2 separate regions of the Homo sapiens genome follow, and region 1 is linked to region 2. Evidence: promoter capture Hi-C in 16 types of primary human blood cells and fetal thymus (Javierre and others, 2016). All regions are on one chromosome and are shown on one strand. Each heading gives the region's core, a stretch centred on a gene start or on the middle of the fragment in contact. The rest is flanking DNA. Distances are from core to core; before and after follow the strand shown. Region 1 has its middle 32 kb from the start of PNMA8B. Region 2 holds the start of DACT3-AS1 (DACT3 antisense RNA 1).

Region 1 (4,315 bases), core at 1,065-3,564, 130 kb after region 2:
AATGGGCTAAGATTCCAGTGACTAAATGGGGAACAGGATGTCTAAGGAGCTGGGGGTGGAAGGGTGTGGCTGAGCCTCGGGATGGGGGTTGGGCAGGAGGTGGCAGGGCCAGGCACAGAGGGCATTGTGGTTTGGTCACGTCAGGCTATGACCAAGGAACGGAAGGTTGTGGGGTTACCAAGGCCAGAGCTGGAAGCTTCTCTGCAGCTTATGTGCTGTGTGACACTGGGAAAGTTAAATGACCTCTCTGAGCCTCACTTTCCTCATTTATAAGATATTCTCAGAATTGCTGTGTTGATTTAGGCACGTGGATAATTTAGCATAGGTACTGGTCACAGTAGGGCTTTAAGTATCGATTATTGGTGTCAATCCTTATTTTCATAATTCCCTTTTGTGTGTAGAACGGGCTGTTGCTGTATGAGGAATTTGCTGGGTCAGAGCGCCCTCTGGTGGGCGTGGGGAGCCAGTTCAGGGAAGAAAGATGAAACCAGAGGTTTTGATTTTAAAGGGCACCACCCTCCCTCCCCTTCTTATTCTGTCCCTTCCTCCCTTTCTTTCCCTTTCTTCCCTCCACATGCATTCACCAGGGTCTGATCCTGCCTAGATGGGGACTGAAACAGCCCAGGTCCTACCTTCCCGGGGGGTTTACAGCCCGGTAGGGGGAGGCAGAGGAACCCCACCTGAGTAGAGCTTAACACTGGGGAGAAGGTGGGACTGCGGGATACAGGGCTTCATAGGAACCCGACTTGTTCCCGGGGCACTGGGGAACTAGAGAAAATTTTGGAATAAGGGAGGGGGAGGGTCAAGTTTGCGATGTCATGTGGATGAATGGGACGGGTGAGGCTGAGGCTGGACCCGACGGGGAGGCCGCAGAAGGCGTGGGCTGAAAGCGTGGAATGGTGTGGGCTGAAGGCGTGCAGGGCGTGGGAGGGGGATGTTGGGGCAAAGTCCAGGACCCTAGCCCACTCCTAGTTTGGGAGAGGAGTCTCTCTCACCCTCAGGGTTCGTCCCCAGCCTGGTGATCTGCTGGGAGCTGCCAGCCACTCATCTCTTGAACTGGCCCAGGCCTGGGGCCCTGTGTCCCCAGGCAGAGCTCCCATAGTTCCCCGTTAGCCTAGAGGGTCACAGCTCCCAGTCCCCCAGTGTGGGTCCTGCCACTCATGGGCCCTGGTGGGCCTGAGAATCTAGTGGGCCTCCTGGGGTAGGCTCTGTCCCTGAATGGGCAGAAACAACCTTTCAGCTCTCACAGTGGGGTGACATAGTGGACGAGGGATGGGGGATGCTGGGTCTCTGGACGCATGCCTGGGGGTCTCCCTAGGGGGTTGATGGTTTTGGCCTTCAGGCAGAAAGAACCTGGTGGCAAAGTTCCAGAGGTTAGCGGAGCCTAGCATGGAGGCGGTGAGTGGGGCTGCAGTGTGTGTGCGTGGGGGTTATGATGAAGCTGCAGGGAGCAGATCACGCAGGGCCGTGGGGAGAGCCAGGGCTTTCTGCGGGAGGCTCTGGGAGCCCTGGGAGGTTCCGAGTAGGGAAAGGACAGGGTCAGGTTTGTGCCTTAGGAACACCCCTCTGGAAGGGCAGGACAAGAGGCTGTGAGGCCAGGTGGAGGCTGAGCCAGGAACGTGGGCAGGAGAGGCCAGGTCAGGGCTGGGTGGGGCTGGAGGGTGAGAAGGGAATGGCTGGATCTGAGAGATGTTCAGGAGGCCGACTTGGCAGAAGAAGTGAAGTGACTGCCGGGCTGTGGGGGCTGAGGGGTCGGGAGGAGTCCAGGATGAGGCTCAGTCTCAGCTGGGTGATGGGGTGGAAGGTGGACTTCCCTGGGATGGGAGCAGCCTGCTTGGGGGTTGCTGCTGAGGCTGCGTCAGAGTTCCGGGCAACAGCAGCCTTTGGGAGGGGCCCCTTACCCCCCAGGACCCCGGATCCAGGCTCTCAGGAGTCCTGGGGCTGGGCAGGCAGCCAGAGGGGCCTGGCACTGAGCTGGCACGGAGGAGAACGGCCCTGCTGGCCCAGGCCCCTCGCTGTCTGGCAGGCAGTAGAAGGCACAGAGCCCCAGGCTCCAGGGCTGTGGGAATAACAATAAGAAGAATAATGACAACTCACCTTGGCCAGGTGCGGTGGCGCATGCCTATAATCCCAGCACTTTGGGAGGCTGAGGTGGGCAGGAGGTCAGGAGTTCCAGATCAGCCTGGCCAACATGGTGAAACCTCCATCTCTACTAAAAATACAAAAATTAGCTGGGGGTGGTGTCAGGCGCCTGTAATCCCAGCCACTCAGGAGGCTGAGGAAGGAGGATTGCTTGAACCCAGAATATGGAGGTTGCAGTGAGCTAAGATTGCGCCACTACACTCCAGCCTGAGTGACAGAGTGAGACTCCATCTCAAAGTAATAATAATAATAATAATTACAGCTCATCTTAATTGAGCCCTGCGGTGGCCAGGTATGCCATGGCGTTTCATCTCCCTAGGGGCTGGGAGATGGCTAGGAACAGCCCTGTTTGTTTCATAGAGGAAGCATATTAATCAGAGTTCTCCAAAGAGACAGAATCAACAGGATATGTGTAGACAGAGATAGGAGAAGGGGTTTATTGGGCAACTGGCTCATTCAATTATGGAGGCGGAGAAGTCCTGAGGCTGTGTGCAGGCTGGAGACCCTGGGATGCAGGGAGTGTGGCTCAGAACAAGTCCGAAGGCCTCAGAACTGGGGAAGCCAACGGTGTAATTCTCAGTCCGAAGCCAAAGGCCTGAGGATTTGAGGGGCAGCTGGCGTAAGTCCTGGAGTCCAAGGCTGGGAAGCCTGGAGTTGTCGCTGCCTGCACTGGTTCCCACGGGGGACCAGGAGCTGAGCCCATGGTCCTCAGACGGGCAAGGTGTTTGATTTTAATGTAGTTATAGCTAAGGTTGATGAAGTGTGCCGGTGTGAGCAGCTTAGCTATGGACAGTTTTGGGGTGCAGAAACCAAGACTTGGAGGTTAAACATGTCCAGGGTTGCACCATCAGCACTGGTGCCCGGGCAGCCTGACTTCCGCGTTCATGGAATCCAGGGCTGGGCAGCCTGGGGACAGCCGCTGTGCCCCCACCTCGGCCTCAGTGTGCACGCCCCTTCCCTCCCACCCAGGTGGTCAAGGTGAAGCCCCACGACAAGGATGCCAAAATGAAATACCAGGAGTGCAACAAGATCGTGAAGCAGAAGGCCTTTGAGCGGGCCATCGCAGGCGACGAGCACAAGCGCTCCGTGGTGGACTCGCTGGACATCGAGAGCATGAGTGAGTCAGGCCTGGATGCTCCACGCTCCAGCCCAGAACATTCCACACGGGCCTTCTCCATTCCCTGGGGGTGGGGGTGGGCTCAAGGGTAGCCCCTTGTTCTGCCCCCAGGCTGCTGTCTGTCGCTCCTCTGCCTGTGTTCCAGGGCGCTCCATCCGCAGCCCAAAGCTCCGTCTCATGATTCCCAATGGGCGAGGTCAGGAGCTGCAACACCCCGCTGATATGGCTTGGCTGTGTCCCCACCCAAATCTCATCCCCACCCAAATCTCATCTTGAATTGTAACTCCCATAATTCCTACATGTTGTGGGAGAGACCTGGTGGGAGATAATTGAATCGTGGAGGCAGTTTCCCCCATACTGTTCTCGTGGTAGTGAGTAAGTCTCACGAGATCTGATGGTTTTATAAGGGGTTTCCCCTTTCACTTGGTTCTCATTCTCTCCTGCCTGTCGGCACATGAGACGTGCCTTTCATCTTCCACCATGATTGTGAGACCTCCTCAGCCACATGGAACTGTGAGTCCATTAAACCTCTTATTCTTTATGAATTACCCAGTCTCGGGTATGTCTTTATCAGCAATGTGAAAATGGACTAATACACCTTCCCTACCCACCAGCATCACCCCTGCCCGGGCCCTTCTCCATGCTGGCTTCTTGGCCACTCTGTCATCCTCTCCTCCCTCCCTCTCTGCCGGCAGTAGCCCCGCCCCCACAGGCTGTGTCTGGTTCACCTCTAGGTGCTGAGAAGGTCCAGCCATTCATCCCACAGATGATTATTGAGCATCTCCTATGTGCCAGGCACTGTCCTAGGCACTGGGGGTACAGCTATGAACAAAACCCTTCCTGTCCGCATGGAGCTGATATTCTAGGAGGCAGATAAGATGATGAACAAGTCACAAAATGAATCGTGCTAAGTGCCATAAAACTGAATAGGGTAAAGGGGGGCGGGTGAAGGAAGAGAAGGAGGTCAGGAAGAGGCCTCTGGGCCAGACCTGACCAGAGAGGGGACTCTTCACTCGCTCTGTCCCTCTCTCAATCTGTGTGTCCAGAGCCAGGTCC
Region 2 (5,017 bases), core at 2,298-4,797:
TTGGCCAGGCTGGTCTTGAACTCCTGACCTCAAATGATCTGCCTGCCTCTGCGTCCCAAAGTGCTGGGATTACAGGCATGAGCCACCCCACCCGGCCTCATTTGCATTCTCTTTGACTGATCTTTGATTACATGCTTCTCAGATCACAATTCTCCAGCTGTAACTTCTGTCTCTTCCCAAATGACACATCTCCCCTCCCTATTCTACCTTCCAGCCTGCAAGATCCACAATGCCCCTGGCTTACTTTTGCAAAAGTGTTTACTCAGTCTTACAACTGCAATTAGGATTGTCAGTTTTGTTCCCCTTTCTCAGCACAAATCACTACTCCCAGGGCCCCATCCCCTTCACTCGCACCACCAAAGCCTTTGGATGGAGCACTGTGCCCTACACGCCTTCCTCAAAGGCCTCTCCCAACGCACCACTCGATTTTTATGGGAACCTCTTCCCATCCCTACCATCTATAAATCAAGGTCTATGAGCTTCTGCAACTTCATTAACAGCCCCTGCATGGGACTCAGTCTCTGTAATCACAATTTTTTTTTTTTTTTTTAAAGATTGGGTCTTGCTCTGTCACCCAGGCTGGAGTGCAATGGTGCAATCATGGCTCACTGTAGCCTCAGCCTCCCAGGCTCAAGTGATCCTCCTGCCTCAGCCTCCTGAGTAGCTCGCACTACAGGTACATGCCACCATATCCAGTTTGTGTGCCATGTTTGGAAGCAACTGTTGCTTGTTGATTCTCCAGACATCTATCTTTCTTTCTCTCTCTCTTTCTTTTTCTTTCTTTCTTTCTCTCTCTCTCTCTCTCAATTTCTTTCTTTCTTTCTTTTTTTGAGACGGAGTCTCCCTCTGTTACCCAGGCTGGAGTGCAGTGCCACAGTCTCGGTGTGTGCCATCATGCCCAGCTAATTTTTGTATTTTTAGTACAGATGGGGTTTCGCCATGTTGGCCAGGCTGATCTGAACTCCTGAACTCAGGTGATCTGCCCGCCTCAGCCTCCCAAAGTACTGGGATTACAGACGTGAGCCACTGCGCCTGGCTGATTCTCCAGAAATCTTTTGGCATCATCATTAATAAAAGCATCAAGAAGTCAAAAAGGAAATCAAGTGATCCTCCCGCCTCAGCCTCCCAAGTAGCTGGGGCTACAGGTGTGCACCACCACACCCGACTAATTTTCTAAGTCTATTTTGAACAAGAGGAAGACTGAATAAAGGTTGTCTCTAATAAATTTCAAGACATTTCCCCCCGGAAACTTACTAGATTAGTTTTTAAACTTATTTGTCAAACCCTTCTGTGGCTCTTAATCCATGGAAGACACTGCTCCAAGTACCTAATACATTTCATTGAATCCTCAGAACAACTGTATGAGGCAGCCAGTATTATGATCCCGTGATCAGATGAAGAAACGGTGGCACAGAGAGGTTAAGTAAGTTTTCCAAGGTCACACAGCTGGAAAGTGACAGATCTGTGACTCACCCCGAGGAAGTCTGGCTCCTGGAGACTTTGCTGTCTATCGCCACTATCAATTTCTCTCCATCTCACCACCAGAAGGTCACTTCGTGCACGGGGAATCATAAAAGAGGGAATTTCTTGTATGATCTTCTGGGCCTTGGCTTTTAGGGAGCCAAGGTCTGTCTGAGAGATGAGTATGAATATTAGAGCTAGGTCTTGGAAGTTGGTAGAGGCAGGCTCGGCGTAGTGATACAGATTGGCCGCCTGAGGGTGCCCCAGCCCTGCTTGCGGAGCCTGGAGAGACAGCAGGAAGCCTTGGAAACGAATGTCAGGCTCAGACTCCTAGGACCAGAGAACGTTGAGAATAGAGCATCATAGAAGGCTGAGAACAAAGCCCCTTAGAACGTAGAACAAAGGCCCCTGGAATGGAAGAATGATGAGCACACATCCTCCTAGCACCTGGGAGACAAAAGCTGCTTAGACTCTCTTCTGGTCAAAGCATAGAATCTTCCACCCAGGGTCTTATAATTCCAGAATTTGGAATGCAATCGATCTTAGACTCTTAGCAGCAAGACCGGCTACATATTTGGCCTAGTGCAAAGTGAAAATAAGGGGCCCCTTGCTCAAAAACTAAAAATTTCAAGACAGAAATTGCAGAACATTCAACCAAGCGCGAAGACCCTTCTAAGTGGATTCCAAGCCGGTGAAGCCGGCCCTAAGTAGAAACAATTTCATCGGAGGACGTCCGTCTGGTTTTACAGCTGAGTGTCTGGGAAGGCTTCTTGGAAGAGGAGGCGAAGTCAGGGCTCGACCCCCTAACCCTTTTCTCCCCCTGCGCAGCCTCAGAAGCTGAAGGTTGGGCGGGGTGGAGGGGTAGGAGCAGCTGCCAAACTGTCACGTGTACCCATTCCCTATTTATAGATCACCCTTCCCCTCGCGCCGGACAGTCCAATGGTAGCCAGCGCTCGCCCGCAAGAGGGTGGAACCTGCTGCAGGACCGGCCAGGCACAGACCAATGGCATTGAAGCAAGGGCGGGCTTGTTTCATTGTGACGCGTGGGGGGGCGTGGCCAGGGCCCCGAGGCAGTTGCACGGAGGGGGCGTGGCGAGCGGAGTGAGTAGGCAGTTGCGAGCATGCGTCGTGTTGGGCGGTGCGGTTGCACGCCCGAGAGTCTTCGTCAGGAAGCTTATTCGCCAATAGGCGGCTGTTGCTCGGTCGCCGGGGGCGTGGCCATGCAGATAAGGCGCGGGTGGGCGGCCCAATGGGCGGGCGCCTATGCAGATGAGACGGTGACAGCCCGGCCAGCGGGCGGGCGGGCAGGCTGCTGGGGCGGGGAGGTGGGACCGGGAGAGGGGTGGCCGCGGGGCCCGGCCGGGCTGGGGCGGGGGGCCGCAGCCATGATCCGGGCCTTCTCGTTCCCGGTGAGCCCTGAGCGGGGCCGGCTGCGGGGCTGGCTGGAGGGTAGCCTGGCCGGGCTCTGCGAGTTACATTGGCTCCGGGAGAGGCAGGAGTACCGCGTGCAGCAGGCGCTGCGGCTGGCCCAGCCCGGAATGGGGGGCGCCGAGGCCGAGGACGAGGAGGACGCCGATGAGGATGAAGATGCGGCGGCGGCGCGCCGGGCCGCAGCGGCCCTGGAGGAGCAGCTGGTAAGGGGCTGCCTGTCCGTCCGTCCCTCCACCCCCGTCTGTGTCTGTCTGTCTCGGTTGGATGCTCAGACACCGGGCGGGGGTTGGGGACCCGGGTAGGCAGGGAGTGAGAAAGGACAGGGGGTGGGGCTGGCGACCCCGGAGTTCCGGCGGCGGGCCGGACCTGGCCTCCCCGCCCCCAAATCGGGGGAGGGGGAACTGCATCGCCCCCACTGGGGCCTCGTGAGAAACACAGGCCCTGTCTCTTACACCCCTTCCCCAAAGAAAATCCTTGTGGGCGCCAAGTATGTGTCAAACCCGAGACCGGGTACTTTGCAGGCGTTGTCTTCTTGCGGCTTGGGAAACGGGGTGATAGTCCCCATTTAACAGAGAAACAAATTGAGGCTCAGAGAGAGCAAGCGACTCACCCAAGGTGACACAGCCAGGCTCCAAACATGCCCTTCTCTGGGCCCCGCCACCAGGGCTCCATCTTCCCTAAGTCCTGGTGTGCTTGGAGATCTCTGGAGGGGGCGGGGTGGGAGGAGGGGAATCTCAGGGCCTCCAGAGGGAGGGACCACTGCTGAGAGGAAGCTCACAGTCCCTGAGGACCCCCCACTGGGATCTTGACCCTTTGGTGACACTTCCCCTGCTTCCTACCTGGCCCCAGCTCTCCTTGACCCAAGGGGAGGCAGGTCGAGGCAGCGCCTGGGGGAGACTTCTGGACTCTGGGTGTTCTCATGGTGGAAGATGGGCAGAGGTCTCCGGAATGACTTGAGGACGCCCCATGCCTCTCCCCTTTCTATGTCATTCCTTGAGTCTCCCGATCTCGTCCTGGGTTCTGTCACTCTCTCCGTCCTGCCACATCCCTGTGACTTTCTGTGTCTGCTTCTCTTTCTTCATCCTGTCTCTCTGTCTCTGTGATCTCTGTGTCCCTCTGCATCTGTCTCCTTGGCCTTCCCTTCCTGCCTGTCTGCACCTCGCTCTCTTCTTCTTGCCCGACGTCCCAGGCTCAGTCTGTCTTCCCCTCCCCCCAGCCCGCACACCCTGGCTCCACGGCAGATCCCCATCCCCAAGCCTGTGTGTGGCCAGAGCTTCCCGTTTCGGGAAACCTGAGCCGAGGTGGCAGTGGAGGGGGCTCTCCCCGCCGCTGACCTCGACCGCCCCCTCCCCAGATGGGGAGTGGGGAGGAAGACTGAAGCCAGGCTCCCGGGGCTGCACGCCCGGCCCCTCCCCCTCTCAGGAGTGGGACCCCCCTGCACATTCTTTTCTGGAAACAGAAACAGCTGTGGGAGGCCCCACCCCCTCCCAAAGTTAGAGACGGATTGTGGGGGCCTTCGCTAGCTCCCCCCACCCCAAGCTGGCTCGGCTTGGAAGGCGCCTTCCATCCTGACAAGGAGAATGCGAGGCATGAGGTTGGGGTAGCTGTGGGTAGCTGTGTCCTCTCCCCCTCTGCCCTCGGTCTCTCCCCTTTTCACCCTTCACCTTCCCCATCTCTGCCCTTCAGTCTCCCTCTCCTCGGTCCCTCTGTCCCCTCCTCCCCCTCAGCCCTCTGTCCTCCCGGCACGAGCTGATAGTGGAGAGGCCTGTCCCCCCACCCCCCAGTCTCTAGGCAAAGCTTGTCCCAGCATCAGGGAGGAGGCGGTGGCAGGCGGGGGGAGGAGGAGGAGCAGAGAAGCGCTAAATATAAACTTCTCTAGTGCTGGGGGTTCCTGGGTCCCTCTGAAGAGTGGATTAGGGCTTCTTCTGATCCCCCAACCCTTGTCTTATGACTTATCCCCCCACCCCCAGCCCCTGCCAGGAATACACTTCCTTCAAGGCAAGAAAGACTGAAGCCAGACTTGATTACTTTCTAATAGGAATGATGGGGATACCAGGTAAAGATCAGGGGTGTGGCAGAGAAGAGAGGCAGGAATCCTGGGTGAGGGCAGGGGCTCCCTGGGTCC

Evidence for each region. The method cuts DNA at HindIII sites, captures the fragments that hold promoters and counts their contacts. A CHiCAGO score of 5 or more calls a contact.
Region 1: a contact is called between a fragment that was not itself captured here and the fragment with the promoter of DACT3-AS1 in region 2, in 1 of 17 cell types (naive B cells). The highest score is 5.2, in naive B cells.

The regions. Positions count from the first base shown.
Region 1 is chr19:46,525,869-46,530,183 of GRCh38, reverse strand. It overlaps the pseudogene PPP5D1P. Among named protein-coding and RNA genes, the nearest start is that of PNMA8B, 32 kb to the right of the region's middle. The HindIII fragment of the contact is 4,232 bases long and covers 199-4,315 here.
Region 2 is chr19:46,658,894-46,663,910 of GRCh38, reverse strand. It overlaps DACT3-AS1 (DACT3 antisense RNA 1), which reads right to left and starts at 3,547. Exons shown (of 3, transcript NR_040042.1): 1 at 3,503-3,547. DACT3 (dishevelled binding antagonist of beta catenin 3) reads left to right here and starts at 2,729. Exons shown (of 4, transcript NM_145056.3): 1 at 2,729-3,095. The coding sequence starts at 2,847. RefSeq lists silencers at 2,352-2,471, 2,682-2,931. The HindIII fragment of the contact is 2,055 bases long and covers 2,637-4,691 here.